Regions from separate parts of the Homo sapiens genome. Here region 2 is linked to region 1. The links are contacts of gene promoters, found by promoter capture Hi-C in human tissues and cell types (Jung and others, 2019). All regions are on one chromosome and are shown on one strand. Each heading gives the region's core, a stretch centred on a gene start or on the middle of the fragment in contact. The rest is flanking DNA. Distances are from core to core; before and after follow the strand shown.

Region 1 (7,928 bases), core at 2,265-4,764:
GGGTAATTTATAAAGAAAAGAAATTTATTTCTCACAGTTCTGGAGGTTAGGAGGTTTAATATCAAGGTGCTGGCATCTGGTAAGGACCTTTGTGCTATGTCATCCCAAAGCGGGGGGGCAAGAGAGGGCCAAGCTCACATTTATAACAATCCACTCCTATAACAACATTAATCCATTCATGGGAGCAGAGCTCTCATGGCCTAATCACCCCTTATTGTCCTACCTCTTAATACCATTATAATGGAAGTTAAATTTTAACATGAGTTTTGGAGGGGACAAACATTCAGACCATAGCAATTACCAGTATGCTGTTTGTCCTCTTATTTTCCTTTTCATAGAAAAATGTAATAAATGGAACATACTAGAAGGATCTATGGGAACAACATTCAGGGAAAATGCCATTCCTCTTCAACCAATCCAGGGAAAACGTACAGAGAAACTCTAATTTTTGTGAGTTTTTGTTAATGCTATGGCAGTATTTCAGCTGTGGGTCACCTGGAAATTTTATCACTGCAGAAGGTGATAAACATTTCATTATACAATGCTCTATTCTTTTATACTTTCCTAGAGGCAATAACTACATATACCGACAATGAAGATCTTTTTAAATAGACACGTGGGGTTTTGAAGCACTTGAGATTTTATTGATTAATTGATTTTTTATTTTTTTACTTTGTGTCAACCATCTCTTAGAATCTGGATTTGGGGGACTGACTTAAGATTGGCTGGGAGAAGTCAGTAGGGAACCTCAGGATTTGTCCAGAAGCTGGGAAGTTTCATTTTTTTTTTTTTTTTGAGACGAAGTCTCGCTCTGTCACCCAGGCTGGAGTGCAGTGGCACGATCTCAGCTCACTGCAAGCTCCGCTTTCGAGGTTCACGCCATTCTCCTGCCTCAGCCTCCCGAGTAGCTGGGACTACAGGCGCCCGCCAACACGCCCGGCTAATTTTTTTGTATTTTTAGTAGAGACGGGGTTTCACCGTGTTAGCCAGGATGGTCTGGAACTCCCAACCTCGGGTGATTCGCCCACCTCGGCCTCCCAAAGTGTGGGATTACAGGCGTGAGCCACCACGCCCGGCCGGAAGTTGTAGATTTTAAACCAGTTGACTAGTACAGGTGTACCCAAGAGTTTCTCAAAATAAGAGTTACCAACACCCAAAAGTTACAGTCATCAGCCAGGGCCACAATTCTCTGCTCAGCTCCTCCTGCTGTTGTTCCTCTCTTCCCGAGCCGTTCTCTGACTTTGAGAGCCTCTGCCTGTCCCCAGGCCTAATGTAGACCTCTCCTTCGAGATCTGTCATTTGGGAGGTTATTATAGTAGATGGTGATATGGGTTCAGGGCAGCTAGTTTGCAGTTTAGAATCTCTGCCATGTACTGAAGCCCAAAACTATTAAACTGAGTATACAAGAATGTTTTGGTGCTGCCCCAGCTTCTTGGCTCTACTTTCTTATCTAATCTTAGTTGTCAATGATTTCAAGAGCAAACAGCCAAGGAAGCCTGAAGACCAACAGAAACTTTGAGCAGACCTGGCTTGCAACTATTTATAAATTAATTTTGTTATTCCTTCTTTCCTGTATATGTGTAGTTCCATGAATTCTACTTTGAACTGGTTATAACATCTTACTGGTTCCCTCATGAATGAGTTACATAAAAATTTTGATATGTTTTCATTTTATGTTGTATGAAAGGCATGATTTTTGCCTCTGAAAGTATTTTTTAACATTAGGTACATTATATGCTAAGTACTTGTCTAGATACTTTATGTGTTTATTTTGCAGACACACAGAACACATTTGTATATGCCAGGTGCTGTTTTAAGTGCTCTATAAGTATTAACTAATTCAATCCTTAGAATAGGATTATGTCATTTAAACTTCTCTTCAGCTCTTATTAGCCCTATCTTATTAAATGGAGGCTCAGAGAGGCCCAAGGTTGTGTTATTAAATTGTAGGGTCTGTGTGAGGCTGAGGCAACTGCCCTCCCCAGAAGACACTGGGAGCTCCCTGCTAGGGACTAAATGTTTGTGTCCCCTCTGCAATTCATATGTTGAGACCCTAACCCCCAACGTGATGTTATCAGGCATTTGGCAGATAATTAGCTACAGGTGAGGTTATGAGCATAGGCCCCCATAATGGGATCTGTGCCCTTATAAGAAGTGACCAGGAAGCTTACTCTTTCTCTGTCTCCAACATGAAGGTGTCCTTCTGCAAACCAGGAAGAGGGCCCTCACCAGGAACTGATTGGCCAGCACTGTCATCTTGGACTTCCCAGCCTTCAGGACTGTGACGAATAAATTGCTATTGTAAGCCACCCAGTCTATGGTATCTTTGTTATAGCAGCTTGAGCCAAGATATACCCTCTAATGGTGCTGTAGGATGGGGTGAGGAAAGGCCCCCAGCTCTGGTTTTTGGGAAGCTGCATCTTTATTTTTATTATTTGTTTGAGACAGGGTCTCACTTTGTCACCCAGGCTGAAGTGCAGTGGAACGACCTTGGCTCACTGCAGTCTCAGGCTCCTGGGTTCAAGCAATCCCCTTGCCTCAGCCCCCTAAGTAGCTGGGACTACAGGCACGTGCCACCATGCCCTGCTAATTTTTGTATTTCTTTAAGAGATGGGGTTTTGCCATGTTACCCAGGCTGGTCTCGAACTCCTGAGCTCAAACCATCTGCCCATTTCAGCCTCCCAAACTGTTGGGATTACAGGCATGAGCCATCCTTCCAGGCCAGAATCTGCATCTCTAAAGAGCAGATTCTCCTGCCTCAGCCTCCTGCGTAGCTGGGACTACAGGTTCGTGCCACCATGCCCAGCTGATTTTTTGTATTTTTAGTAGAGAAGGGGTTTTACTGTGTTAGCCAGGATAGTCTTGATCTCCTGACCTCGTGATTCACCCTCCTTGGCCTCTTAAAGTGCTGGGATTACAAGTGTGAGCCATCGCGCCCGGCCGGTTTATTTTTTTAAAAATGGCTGGGCACAGTGACTTGTGGCTGTAGTTCTAGCTACTTGGGAGGCTGAGGCAGGAGGATTACTTAAGCCCAAGAGTTGGAGGCTGCAGTGAGCTATGATCGTGCCACCACACACTCCAGCCTGGGTGACAGATCAAGACCCTGTCTTAAAAAAAAAAAGTATGATTATTATCAGAGTCTCTAGGTGACAGTGAGAGGCAGCCTGGTGCAGGGGATAGGGCACAGTTGTAATCTGCTAGACTGGGTTCAAATCCTAAATCGGCCATTCAGAGCGTGAATACATTAGAACTGGCTTAAATTAGCATTTAAAATGTCAACAGGATTAAGTAAGTAGTTCCTTCTCACTTTTTCCACAGGAGGTGAGAAAGGTCTCAGCAAGGCCCTAGGAGGGAAGGGCGTGGGGATGAAAGGGATCCAGAGAGTCTGTGCATTGGCAGAGAAGATAGTGTAACTGGCACTGCGGCTGGAGGGCTGGTCCCACAGTGAGCTACAGCCCTGCCCGCTGGCCGTGGGAGAGGCTTAAAACAAACGCCGGAAGCAACTCCCAGCCCCATAAAGATCTGTGACCGGCAGCCCCAGACCTGCCTGCCTTCCTGACTTCTGTTCCAGAGCAAAGGTCATTCAGCCGCTTGAATCAGCCTTTTCCCCCCACCCGGTCCCCAACTTTGTTTACCCGATAAGGAAGGTCAGCATTCAAAGTCAAGAAGCGCCATTTATCTTCCCGTGCGCTCTACAAATAGTTCCGTGAGAAAGATGGCCGGGAACTCGATCCTGCTGGCTGCTGTCTCTATTCTCTCGGCCTGTCAGCAAAGTAAGAGGCATGGGAAGTTCGTGTGTGTGCGCGTGTGTGCGTGTGTGTGTGTGTGTGACAAGGCTTGCGGGAGAGAGAGGGAGGGAGGGAGATGGGTCCGGTGTTTTGTTTCCTACTTGCCCTTGCAGGTAGCTCTGGGTCCTCAGAGCACAGTCGCCTCAGGGTCACCCATGCCGCCTGCTACCCTCCTTCCCAGGGGCAAGCAGAGACTGAGAACATTCCAGAGATTAGTTCTCCCAACTGGAACGCTGTGGGGCCTCAGAGCTCAGCGATTCTGCATCATCTGTGATTACGACCCACAGCCCGTTCAAACGAGCGTTAGTAGCCTGCTAACCTGCAGGAAGTGGTGTGAATATTAATTACAAGTGTTCCAAAGGAAACGTGCCTGCTTCTAAACCTGGTTGTGATTTCTTGAACGTTGATGTTTTAATTAATGTGTTTTCTTAAATAAACTGCCTATGGTGGTATGATTATCAGATTGAAAAAAACTTCCTTCAGAAATATTAGCTTTAGATTAAGTAATTAGCTCTAAATTTTAAAACAGCTTCCCACTAGGATTATTCAATATCTCGACTGCCTGGTTAAATAGAGGGCTTTTACTCCATGGGAGTCACATTTGCTCAATTCATATTATCTTACCTACAATGTCAGCTGGGGAAAGGGGTCCGAGTGCAAGAGTGCAAGACTTCTTACCAAGCATGCATATTTCTTTATATTTCCAAGTATGCCTGTACCAGGAAATAGGGCCAAGCCGTAGACTGCTCAGGTTACACAAACAGCCAGAAGCAGGAAGGCCTCACAGCTGAGGATCCAGTCCAGGCCTCCGTGCATGCTCAATGTCTTGCCTAGCCAGTCTGTTTTGAGATTGTATGAAGATCTTGAACCTTCAGACTCACGTTTTGTGGTTTGATTCACACAATCTGTTGTGGAGAAGAGCAGGATATTTGTTTCTAATTAAAGAAGCACTTAGATCTGTTAAAAGGAAAACCCTAGACAAATTACATTTAACTGAGTTTAATTGAGCAAAGAACGATTCACAGTTGGGCATGGGGAACCGGAATAGGTTCAGAGAGACTCTGGGGCTGCCACGTGGTAGAAGAAGATTTATGGACAGAAAAAGGAAAGCGACTCCCAGAAAACGGAAGCATATAGTTCACGATGTACGGAGAAACCTTTAGGCTGAACTTAAAATATGTCAGAAGGCAGCTTTAGGCTAAACCTAATTTAGCAGGTCTAAGGCTCACTGTTGGTAGCATCCTGACTCACAGGTGCTACCAAACCTGCATGCGCCTTTATCCTAGGCCTGCAGGTCCACAGATGTCCCAAAGCTGACAGAGGTGCTCATCCTCCCTGTTTGCTGCTTGTGCAGGGGGCTGTGTGAACTGGGGCCAGAATGTTAGGGGGCTGGATGGAGTGGGGGTAGGGGTGGGGAGAGAGGAGAGGAGACTGGGTGAATGATGATTAATGGTGGACAGGGAATGTTTAATGACAAGGTGTTAGGGCCGGGCACGGTGGCTCACCCCTGTAATCCGAGTACTTTGGGAGGCCAAGGCAGGTGGATCACGAGGTCAAGAGATCGAGACCATCCTGGCCAACATGGTGAAACTCCGTCTCTACTTAAAATACACAAATTTGCTGGACATGGTGGCACGCTCCTGTAGTCCCAGCTACTAGGGAGGCTGAGGCAGGAGAATCGCTTGAACCTGGGAGGGGGAGGTTGCAGTGGACTGAGATCACAGCACTACACTCCAGCCTGGCAACAGAGCGAGACTCCATCTCAAAGAAAAAAAAAAGATGTTGATGAAGAGTTGAACTTTGTAAAATAATTGAAAAGCTGTATTCTGAGCCAAACATGAGGGACGAGTGGCCGGTGACACAGCCCAAGGAGATTCTAAGAACATCTGCCCAAAGGGGTCTGGCTACAGATTGGTTTTATACATTTTAGGGAGACATAAGACATCAACCAATTCATGTAAGATGTACATTAGTTTGGTCCCAAAAGGCGGGACAACTGGAAGTGGGGCATGGGCTTCCAGGTCATAGGTGGATTTAAAGATTTTCTGATTGGCAATTGATTAAAAGAGTTTATCTACAGACCTCAAATCCATAGAAGGGAGTGCCTGGGTTAAGATAAGGGGTTGTGGAGGCCAAGGTTCTTACTATGCAAATGAAGCTTCCAGGTAGCAGCGTTTGGAGAGAATAGATTGTAAATGTTTCTTATGAGACTTGAAAAGGTGCCAGACTCTGTTAATTCTCTCCTGGATCAGAGAAAAGACCTGGCAAGGGAAAGGGATTTTCTACAGAATGTAGACTTTCCCCACAAGAGACAACTTTGCAGGACCATTTCAAAATATGACAAAGAAATATATTTTAGGGTAAAATACTTCAATTTCTTTCAAGGCCTGCTATCTGTCATGTGATGCTATACTGGAGTCAGGCTGGAATTTGGTGTCTTATTTCTACAAAAAGTCTTAAGTGTTAGATTTTTTAAAGGGAAGGTGGGGTTCAAGAAAGACACAGAGAGAGAGAGAGAGAGAGGAGGGGGAGGGGGTAGAGGGGGAGAGGGAGAGAGAGAGAGGCTTTACAACAACACAGGTTTATTACAAAAACCTGTGGAGGTGGGGGACCAGCTTAATGCCAGAGCCCGCCATTGCTTACAGGCTGGGGTATGTACAGGTATGGGCAGGAGGGTTTTGGGCAGTATGGCTTGCTGCCCTGGAGGATATTGATAAGATGTTCTTATGTTCAGGTGGTTTGGCCAGGGATATTCCTTGGGCTCTGTCAGGATTTGATAGGGATATTTCTTCAGTTGGGTCTTTGCTTGGCAGGGTATGATAAAGATGTTCCTGTGTCTTGTGGTCAGGTGGCTAGGCAGGATTTCTCAGGGCCCGAACCCCCATGGAATGTTTCACTTTGACAAAGGCCTGTGAAATGGCAGGGGGCTTACAAAATGGTGTAGTTTGGACTAACATTAAGGTCTGTTTCAATGTTAATGCTGGTCAGTTATGCCTGAATTCCAAAGGGCGGAGGATATAATGAGGCACATCTGACACCTTTTCCCCATCATGGCCTGAACTCGTTTTTTAGGTTAACTTTGGAATGCCCTTGGCTGAGAGGAGGACTCCATTTAGATGGTTGGGGGGCTTAGAATTTTATTTTTGGTTTACAAAGGAGAGAGAGAGTGTGTAAGAGGGAGACAGAGAGAGGAAGACACAACTGTTTAGCTGGCATTAGGAACCAGAATTTGCTCCTTTTGCAAGTCTGATGTTCATGGAGTCGGGACACCATGTGCCATGGTTGAAGCAGCTTAGGTTTTGAAGACAGACAGAGCTGTATCTGTTGGTCTAGCCACTTCCCAGCTGGGTGTCCCCGTTCAGGATACACTGCCCTTCAATGTTACCATCAAAGAGGGTTTAATGGGACGCTGGGGAGGAAATCCCACCATAGTTCCTGGCCCCATGTAGGCGCTCAGCACTGTCAGTTCCCATCCTAAGGTCCTTCTTCGAAGAGAGAAGTTTCTGCTGCATGGAGAGGTAGAGACAGGGTGAAGGTACCCAGCTGTGGCTGGGTGGGCATCACAGGGGGTAAGGGGCAGAGAAAGCTTCCCCTTCACCCTCTGAAGGTTCACTGAACGTCAACTGACAAAAGGCAGATTAACAGGAGAAAGGCTGTGACAATTTATTTTAATATGCACAGCATGAGAGAATGGTTGCCCAATAATCCAAAGGGGTACAGCAGTTTGTATACCATTCTTCACAGGGGAGGGAGGAAATGGGGAATGCAGACAATTCTTTTGAGTGGTAGTAAACAATTATTAGGGAGAATGAATGGACTGGGAGACAAAGTAACTTGTCAATGATTCTCTGGAATTTGATTGGCCAGAGGGGTAGGCTTAATCTGGTGGGAAAGTTCGTCCAGGTGTGTGCATTCCTCGGTCTTCTTTTCCACATGAGATAATGAGGTCTGAGGGAGGAGACGGCAGGCAATTGTGTTTGTCTTAGGGGGTCTGGTTTCTAGGTAGATAAGGGAGTTTCAGAGGACTGCCCAGCTGCATCCTGTGCCTTGGTAGAGACCACAGGTTGAGACAGGAGGCAGTGGAGAGGTCACAAAGACCTTGAGGCAGCTTCTTTAGTTCAGTCATATTTTGAGGTGTAA
Region 2 (7,928 bases), core at 2,165-4,664, 1.2 Mb after region 1:
AATAAAAGAAATGCAAAAGTTATCACTTGAATGTACTGAATAAATAAATGGGAAAATCTGAAGATATCATGTTGATTTTTTGAAAGGATAAAACACTGGGGAAGGGGACTTATGCTCTTTTGATATCAATGCTATGTGGAATACATCATGCTAAGGAATCAAGGCAAAACCACAGAGTAGGCTAAGAGAAACAAGACCTAGACTGAGCAGCGAGCTCAAGTGTTTCATTTATTATGGGACAGGAATCTCATTCCTGCTCTTTCCAACTCCACCTTATTAGGTACCTTTTAAGATCATTTTCTGTTTCCTTGTTTCTCTTTTAGAACCATGCTCAGCACCTCCCTAAGAAGAGGGGCCACCTGTGTGGAATGGTTCCTGAAGCTGGCAGTGGTGGGGGTGTGAATAAGCCAGTTGTTCTGGCGGGGGCTTGTGAAGCTTAAAAATGAAGAATTGAGAAGAACTGAAAAGGTATCGTTTAGAGTTGGATTATCATGAGTGACTAAACATGTACACAATAAACACAGAATTAGGAAAATTCTTAAAATTTTAAAACTGAAAAACTAGCAATTTTCTAGTATTAGGAATGCAAAATCTAAGACAGAGGCATTTCATCCTAATATTCTCCAATATATGTACAAAAGGCCAAATTCCCTAAACAAGTCCATAGGGAGTTCCTGGAATTTAACATGGGGGTTAAGGTTTTAGTATTTCCTCCACAAGCTGAAGAGTGATGGTTCCTTTCTCTGTCTCTTTCTAAACTCAGGAAAGCTATGCAAATCCCTTATGTAGACAAAGCTTTTAGTAGATCTGGCAAATGAGATCTGTTCTTAAGAAACAGCACTTGGCAAAGTAACTGCTATTTTGTACACATCTGTTTTACATCTGTTCAAACCTAAATTCCTTCAGAGGAGGGGCAATGTCATCCTAGCTCAAAATAGGCATTAATAAATCTTATGCTAAATCACCAACATCTTTTGGTAAAATAGCTGTGTTTAATTAATGAAAGACTTCCAGATTAACTTCTGATGAGGTCTTCTAGGTATCTTCAGAGTGTTTTATGATGTTTTCTCTCCCTAGTTATTGTTAATATATTCTGTGACCTTTCCACAACAGAAAGTCATTTTAACATGTGGCTCACGTAGTTTCTGAATTTTTCTTTCTTTTTAAAGGATCATGCTGCTGCTTTTTGGGATGATTACTGATGTTTATAGTGAGCCCCATCCCCCACTTTTTAAACTCCATAAATATTTAAGACAAATAACCCTAAATATTTGTCCATGATAGAGATCCTGGGTCCCCTCCTTTGATTGGTGCATGCTTTGTTTAACATTTTGCCAGTGCTTCCCAGTAGCAAACAATCAATGCACATTTTGAACTTGTATTCTTAAAAAATCTGCAGCCACAAACATGGCCCATGTCCTAAATAGTAGGTACTGCTGAATAGATCTTCAATGTTTATTTTTGTCCGGCCTGCAAATATTTTATATTATTTTGCCATGAAGAAAGCTGCCTGAGACTATGTCGGCAGTTTCCTGTAACGTAGATGCCTTGTCAATAATGTAAGTATGGTGCAGAGTGAACAAATCCATAAATCTCGAAGTCACAAATAACTTGCTCATCTGGGGCTGAGCTGCCTGAGTCTCCATGGATACCAAGGGAGCATCTTCAATTCAGGGAACTCTCAGGGAGAGCAGACTCTTTCTTGCCCCAGGAATCTGCAAGCCTGGCAAAAAGAAGTGAGGGTCCTTGAGAACATTACCTTTGTGGATCCTGTTCATTAACCCACTAGAGACTAAGTCCCAGGTCCCCTTTGGTTTTCTCCCACTCCCTTTAAGAGAAAATCTCCTGGAGAGGGTCAGGGGGCACAGGTAGCATGAGGGCTAATTGGGATTTCTGAGACTGTTTGAACATTTTTCCTTCAAAGCTTTGATGGGAATTCCAGCATCATAAGTGAGTATATTTTTCTATTTTATGGTTATATTTTTAGAGACAGGGTTTCTCTAAGGGGAAGCTGAATATTTAGGCACTGAGACAGCCCTGGAAGTAGAAAATGGGCATATTATAAGCATAGCTATGCATCAATGTAAGTCAAAGTCCCCACAATATGCCTTGGAAGCAAAAAACATATGTCTCTGTAGGAAATTAGCCTATATACATTATAAGAGCAAAGCTATGGTTCCATATGTTCCATAACTGTAATTGTTCATCAAGATAGGAAAATAAAAACAAAGAAAAATAGAGTTCCTACCATTATTACCTCCTGCCAATTATCAGCTCCCAGAACACATTGTCTATACTCTTAACTTTGGTGGCAGATCATTCTGCTTAGCAGTTACCAACTCTTAGTTCTGTGTTGCAGATCTTAGCTGCAATGCACCCAAAGAAACTATGAAATGTAGCCTTGTTGTCTTATCCTTTTTCTTATGGTAGTTAATTTTATGACACCAAAGAATTCTTCCCTCAGTAAAATTATGCATCTGAGAAAACCAATGGTAATTCTTTCAAAACTTATCTTTTGATCTGCTCATTCAAGGACTTATTTCAGTATCTAAGATTTTTAAAGAATTTTTTTTCTGCGAAGGACATGAACAGACACTTCTCAAAAGAAGACATTTATGCAGCCAAAAAACACATGAAGAAATGCTCATCATCACTGGCCATCAGAGAAATGCAAATCAAAACCACTATGAGATATCATCTCACACCAGTTAGAATGGCAATCATTAAAAAGTCAGGAAACAACAGGTGCTGGAGAGGATGTGGAGAAACAGGAACACTTTTACACTGTTGGTGGGACTGTAAACTAGTTCAACCATTGTGGAAGTCAGTGTGGCGATTCCTCAGGGATCTAGAACTAGAAATACCATTTGACCCAGCCATCCCATTACTGGGTATATACCCAAAGGACTATAAATCATGCTGCTATAAAGACACATGCACACGTATGTTTATTGCGGCACTATTCACAATAGCAAAGACTTGGAACCAACCCAAATGTCCAACAATGATAGACTGGATTAAGAAAATGTGGCACATATACACCATGGAATACTATGCAGCCATAAAAAATGATGAGTTCATATCCTTTGTAGGGACATGGATGAAATTGGAAACCATCATTCTCAGTAAACTATCGCAAGAACAAAAAACCAAACACCGCATATTCTCACTCATAGGTGGGAATTGAACAATGAGATCACATGGACACAGGAAGGGGAATATCACACTCTGGGGACTGTGGTGGGGTCGGGGGAGGGGGGAGGGATAGCATTGGGAGATATACCTAATGCTAGATGACACATTAGTGGGTGCAGCGCACCAGCATGGCACATGTATACATATGTAACTAACCTGCACAATGTGCACATGTACCCTAAAACTTAGAGTATAATAAAAAAAAAAAAACAAAAAAACAAACAAACAAACAAAAAAAAATAATTTTTTTTCTTTAAAAAAGAAAGGAAGCACTTCCTTTTTCTAGTAGATGATTCTAGAATTACGGCTTATGCTAAAAATGTAAGAGAATGCCTGCACCACCGTGTGTAGGTCACACATCAGGTCGGGGATGTTTCATGAGCAAAGAAGCCATTATTATAATAATCAAAAGGCAGCAGACTTCCCCAGATAGCAATGTTGGCTGCTAGGATTAAACCTCCATCAAGATCACAAGTAAGGCATGACTAAGTAAAAACCTACTTGTATTTTCTATCATTGTATTTTGGGATTTGGACCAGGGCTGTAAGGATCCAGTGGTCATCTTTATTGCATGTATCAACACACAGCACAGGTCTCTTAAGAAGGATCCTCCAAGGATCAAGCACACACAATTGCACTTATGTGTTCAGTGGGGAGATTCTCAAGGCAGAGTAAACAAGAAATAGGTAAAGTTAGTTTGACTGAAGAGAATGTTCTACCTCCAGTACCCCTGCATACAATTAATATGAGAAAATTTCAAGACGCTGCAGGGATAAGATACCACTTAGAATGTGTGCATTGTCTTGGGTTCTGTTTTCCTCGGGCAGGCACTCTGGGGTTGCTGGGCATACGTTTTGAAACTCTGGCTTTAGAACGAATTGCTCAGGAAGCCTGATAGAAGTGACAATTCTCTGCCTACCCCTAGAAACTGTGATTGAGTAGATCTGGGGAGGGGCCTATGGATCTGCACTCCAACTACAGCCCAGGTGGGTGTTCAGACCATAGCTAGAAACTGGTTTGAGAAACTGGAGAAAGAATCTGGGCTTTGATGAGAGTGACAAGAGTTTTCCCTCCAGCCCTGCCATTTACTCCATGTGTGACCTCTGACATGGTTCCTAGACTGCTCTCTAATTCAGTTTCTTAGATATAAAAGAGTGATAATTGTAAAGGTTAAATAAAATATGTAAAGCTCTCTAAGATTCTTGGCACAAAGTTTACTAGTGTTTGAGCCCCTTCACCTTCTCTTCTATACAGTAACATTTTTTTTGAATGCTTATTATGGACCAGGTACTTTTCTAAGGATTATTGCATTACATTTAATCCCAGAGGTAGGTATTCTCTAAATTACCTCCATTTTACAGATGAGAACTAGAGGTACAGAGAGGTTGAGCTATTTGTCCAAAGTTACACAGATAGCAGGTGGCAGGGTTGGGCCTTGACCTAGCTTTACTACCAAGAACGTACATTATTGTCAGGGACATAAATTAGGGATGGGAAATTTCAATACCTCTCTCTGCTGTCTAACAAAGACCTACAGTTTACTTACAGTGCCTTTACTATCTGATCATGTTCCTTGATGCCCCACCAGATGAAGAGACCTACTACCACTCAGTATGGATGGACACATACAATTTTACCTGGCCCCAAAGGTGTTGTTCTATCATAGGGCTTGGATGCTAGGGATATACTATTCCTAAAATTAGGAACTGCCTTACTTGTAGGGGCATATTTAATTTTTCCAGATATTAGAGAGCCTTAGGTTCACTTAACAAAAAAAATGATGCACACATTTTTTTTTTTTGAGTTGTTCTTTCTCTTATGAGGTAAGCTGCAACTACAGTTTCATTTCTAGGAGTAATCAGGAGACCCATGATGAGAAATTTCAATCATCCCTGCTGAGACATGGCTAACTACTATTACATAAAGTTGATGGTACTGAGTAACATGTATGTATGCGTGCAGTCATGCATTTATGCTAGATAAAAGCACAGATGTGCATGCATGTCGAAGTACTGCTTTAGGTACAAATGTCTGACACATATGATATGCATATATGAACATGTTATAGGTTTATGTTCCTACATAGGTGCATGGGCACACTTGGTATACAGATGTGCACAGGCACACATACTTCCACATATGCATGCATGTATGTGCTTGTGTATGCAAGTATTTATGTATCCAACTACATATATTTTTATCTCAGTTTTTTAACAAGGAAGATATGCTTTTTAACCCATTGAGTTCATGCTTAAACTTTGATTTCTAAGTCCTATTTTCTAACTCCTATTTAAATAACAGTGGCAGTACTATTATGGGATTATTTTTCTTTTAAAAATTCATTCCACTGTTCTTGTTGCACAGCAGGAGTGTAAGTGCAGCCAATACTTTCTTGTGCTGACAGCCCTGATTAAGGCATAAGTCTTAATTTATAGAAATGAGTGATTTGTTTGACAAAAAAATTTTGATGGAACTCTGGTCTATAAATCTACTAATTGTTCCTCCCTGCTGCGAACATTAGATACGAGACAGTGTGTTAACTGTGCATGTTGTTGGCTCATAGGCACACGTATTGTTTCCCTGTATGATTTTACTAATGGTTTTTTTTTAAATGAGATCTAATAGGAACATTCAAAACATTGATCTTAGCACTGTGTGTGAAAGAAGTACTGCTGCCCTGAAACTGTCCATAAATTTGGGATTGCAAGGCTGCAGTGAACTGCAGAGGACGTGCTTTGCCTCAAAAGGGCTGAACCAAGTGTCACCATAAGGAAATGTGGCCCAGGATTGCTGCAGCTTCCAGATTTTCCAAATTGAAAATTCAGGTTTCTATGTAAAACCTTGCCATATTTAAATGTGGGCTCCTAACTGAACTTTATCAGAAGCATTCTGAAGACCAAACACATTTCATTTGTAGGCAGGCAGAGTCACAGGTGGCACCAGTTTGATACCTCTGCCTAGAATAATCCTGGAAATTCCTAGACATCTAATTCTACATCTAACTCTATCCAGTCATTCTGGGTGATGAGCCAAGGCTGGAGATTGGTGGTGGTGGTGGTGTGTGTGTGCATGTGTGTATGCATGTGTATGTGTGTGCACAGGGAACCTGGCTTGACTCTCATCCTGATGTCCTGGTGTGTGCTCCTTGGGAAGCCTATGGAGCGAGGAGGAAGAACTGTCTTCTAAGCATCCTTGCACACTCAGAATTATCCAAACAAAGTGAAGAGTGTCCTAACTGATAACCACAATTGTGTCCTGGAGAGATGTGGGGAGGAGAATCTGGCTAAATCACTTCAGCTGCAATATATTTTCTTTTCTCCAGAAGTTTTCCCTGAAAATTTTTCCCCAAAGTGGGGGAAAAACTTGCAGTGAGGACCACCACAGAAGAAGCTGGTGAGTGAGTTAGATATTTCTGTATTTTAAAAGGTATCCTAGTAGGTTCTCTCTCTCACTTTCTCTCTCTCTCTCTCTCTCTCTCTCTCTCTGTGTGTGTGTGTGTGTGTGTGTGTGTGTGTCCCATTTGCTGCAAACCTGGAGATTAGTTTGGTGCAAAAGAAATGGCAGTTTCTGCCATGATGGCAATTTATTTTGCACCAACCTAATAGCAGTGGATATTTCCAAAATTTTTCTTCCAAATTGTCCCCTGAGGTTCAACTTATAAACACAAAAAGATCATCAAGACCTAGAAATCTGAAATTGCTGCTTTATTCATAGAGCAGTTGTCTATGGGTCATTATGCTCAAAACACTAAGGTTACTGGCAGGGCCACTATCTGTTGAATATAACCAATACAGAGCCATGTGTAGAAAGGGCATAATTACAACTTTCTAGGAATTGACACTAATGGGTTGCCAATTTACTGATGGGCTGACTAGTGGTGATGCTGATAACCTCAGAGGTTTCTCTGGAAATAAGGTTGTAAGGACATTCATAATTTTATATGAGATCATGGTCATAAAGACTATAGCTAAGTAACTCAGTAACACTCAAATGATCAATTAGTGAAAAAATAAATAACTACAAGCAAGCAAGCCATTCTGCTCAGGAACTAAAGTAGTTCTGGTAATTGAAGACGAGCAAGGTGATGTCAGTTTTCATCCCCACAGGCAGATGGTTTAGGATACAATCTAGAGCTCTCAGGCCTCGACACTACATCTTGGAAACTGACAAAGATACCTTGCAGATATTTTTATATCTAGAAATTTCAATTTCATCAATATATACCATGATGTGTCTGACCAATATCATTCTCATGAAGAAGTGGTGTGTGGGGTGGGGAGAGAAGTAACATTTATAATTTCTTAAGTGTCAGGCACCAAGCTAGGAACTTTATATATATATATATACATATCGATTCATTTAGCCTTCACAACAAACCTATGAGGTAGGTTCTATTTTGACAATTTTCATGAAGAGGAAACTGAGGCCCAGAGATATTAAGTGAATTGGTGACAGCTAGTAAGTAAGTGGCCAGACCAAGATTTGGGTCCAGATCTGTCTGACTCCAAAGTCATGCAGTTTTCTCAAACCTACATTATCTCACAGTAGGGTCATCTTTATTTATCATGGGTTAATATAAAATAGTAAAGGTCGTGTAGATGGTATAAAACAAAAACGAAAAGCTGCATTTAAGTCTTCAGTGGTTTCTGGGCATTTGGTTTTATGATATTAGCAGGGCATTTGCAGAAATTTATGCACAGTTAGACGTTAGAATCTTTCTCTGTGACATTTTC

The links. The method cuts DNA at HindIII sites, captures the fragments that hold promoters and counts their contacts. A contact is called where the count stands out against the background at its distance.
Region 2: a contact is called between a fragment that was not itself captured here and the fragment with the promoter of MGST2 in region 1, in 1 of the 25 tissues and cell types used here (dorsolateral prefrontal cortex).

What each region holds. Positions count from the first base shown.
Region 1 is chr4:139,662,305-139,670,232 of GRCh38, forward strand. MGST2 (microsomal glutathione S-transferase 2) reads left to right here and starts at 3,515. Exons shown (of 5, transcript NM_002413.5): 1 at 3,515-3,773. The coding sequence starts at 3,716. RefSeq lists enhancers at 3,074-4,273, 3,570-3,739. The HindIII fragment of the contact is 4,625 bases long and covers 1-4,056 here.
Region 2 is chr4:140,893,296-140,901,223 of GRCh38, forward strand. The region is part of intron 6 of RNF150 (ring finger protein 150); the gene reads right to left. Among named protein-coding and RNA genes, the nearest start is that of TBC1D9, 140 kb to the left of the region's middle. The HindIII fragment of the contact is 5,598 bases long and covers 616-6,213 here.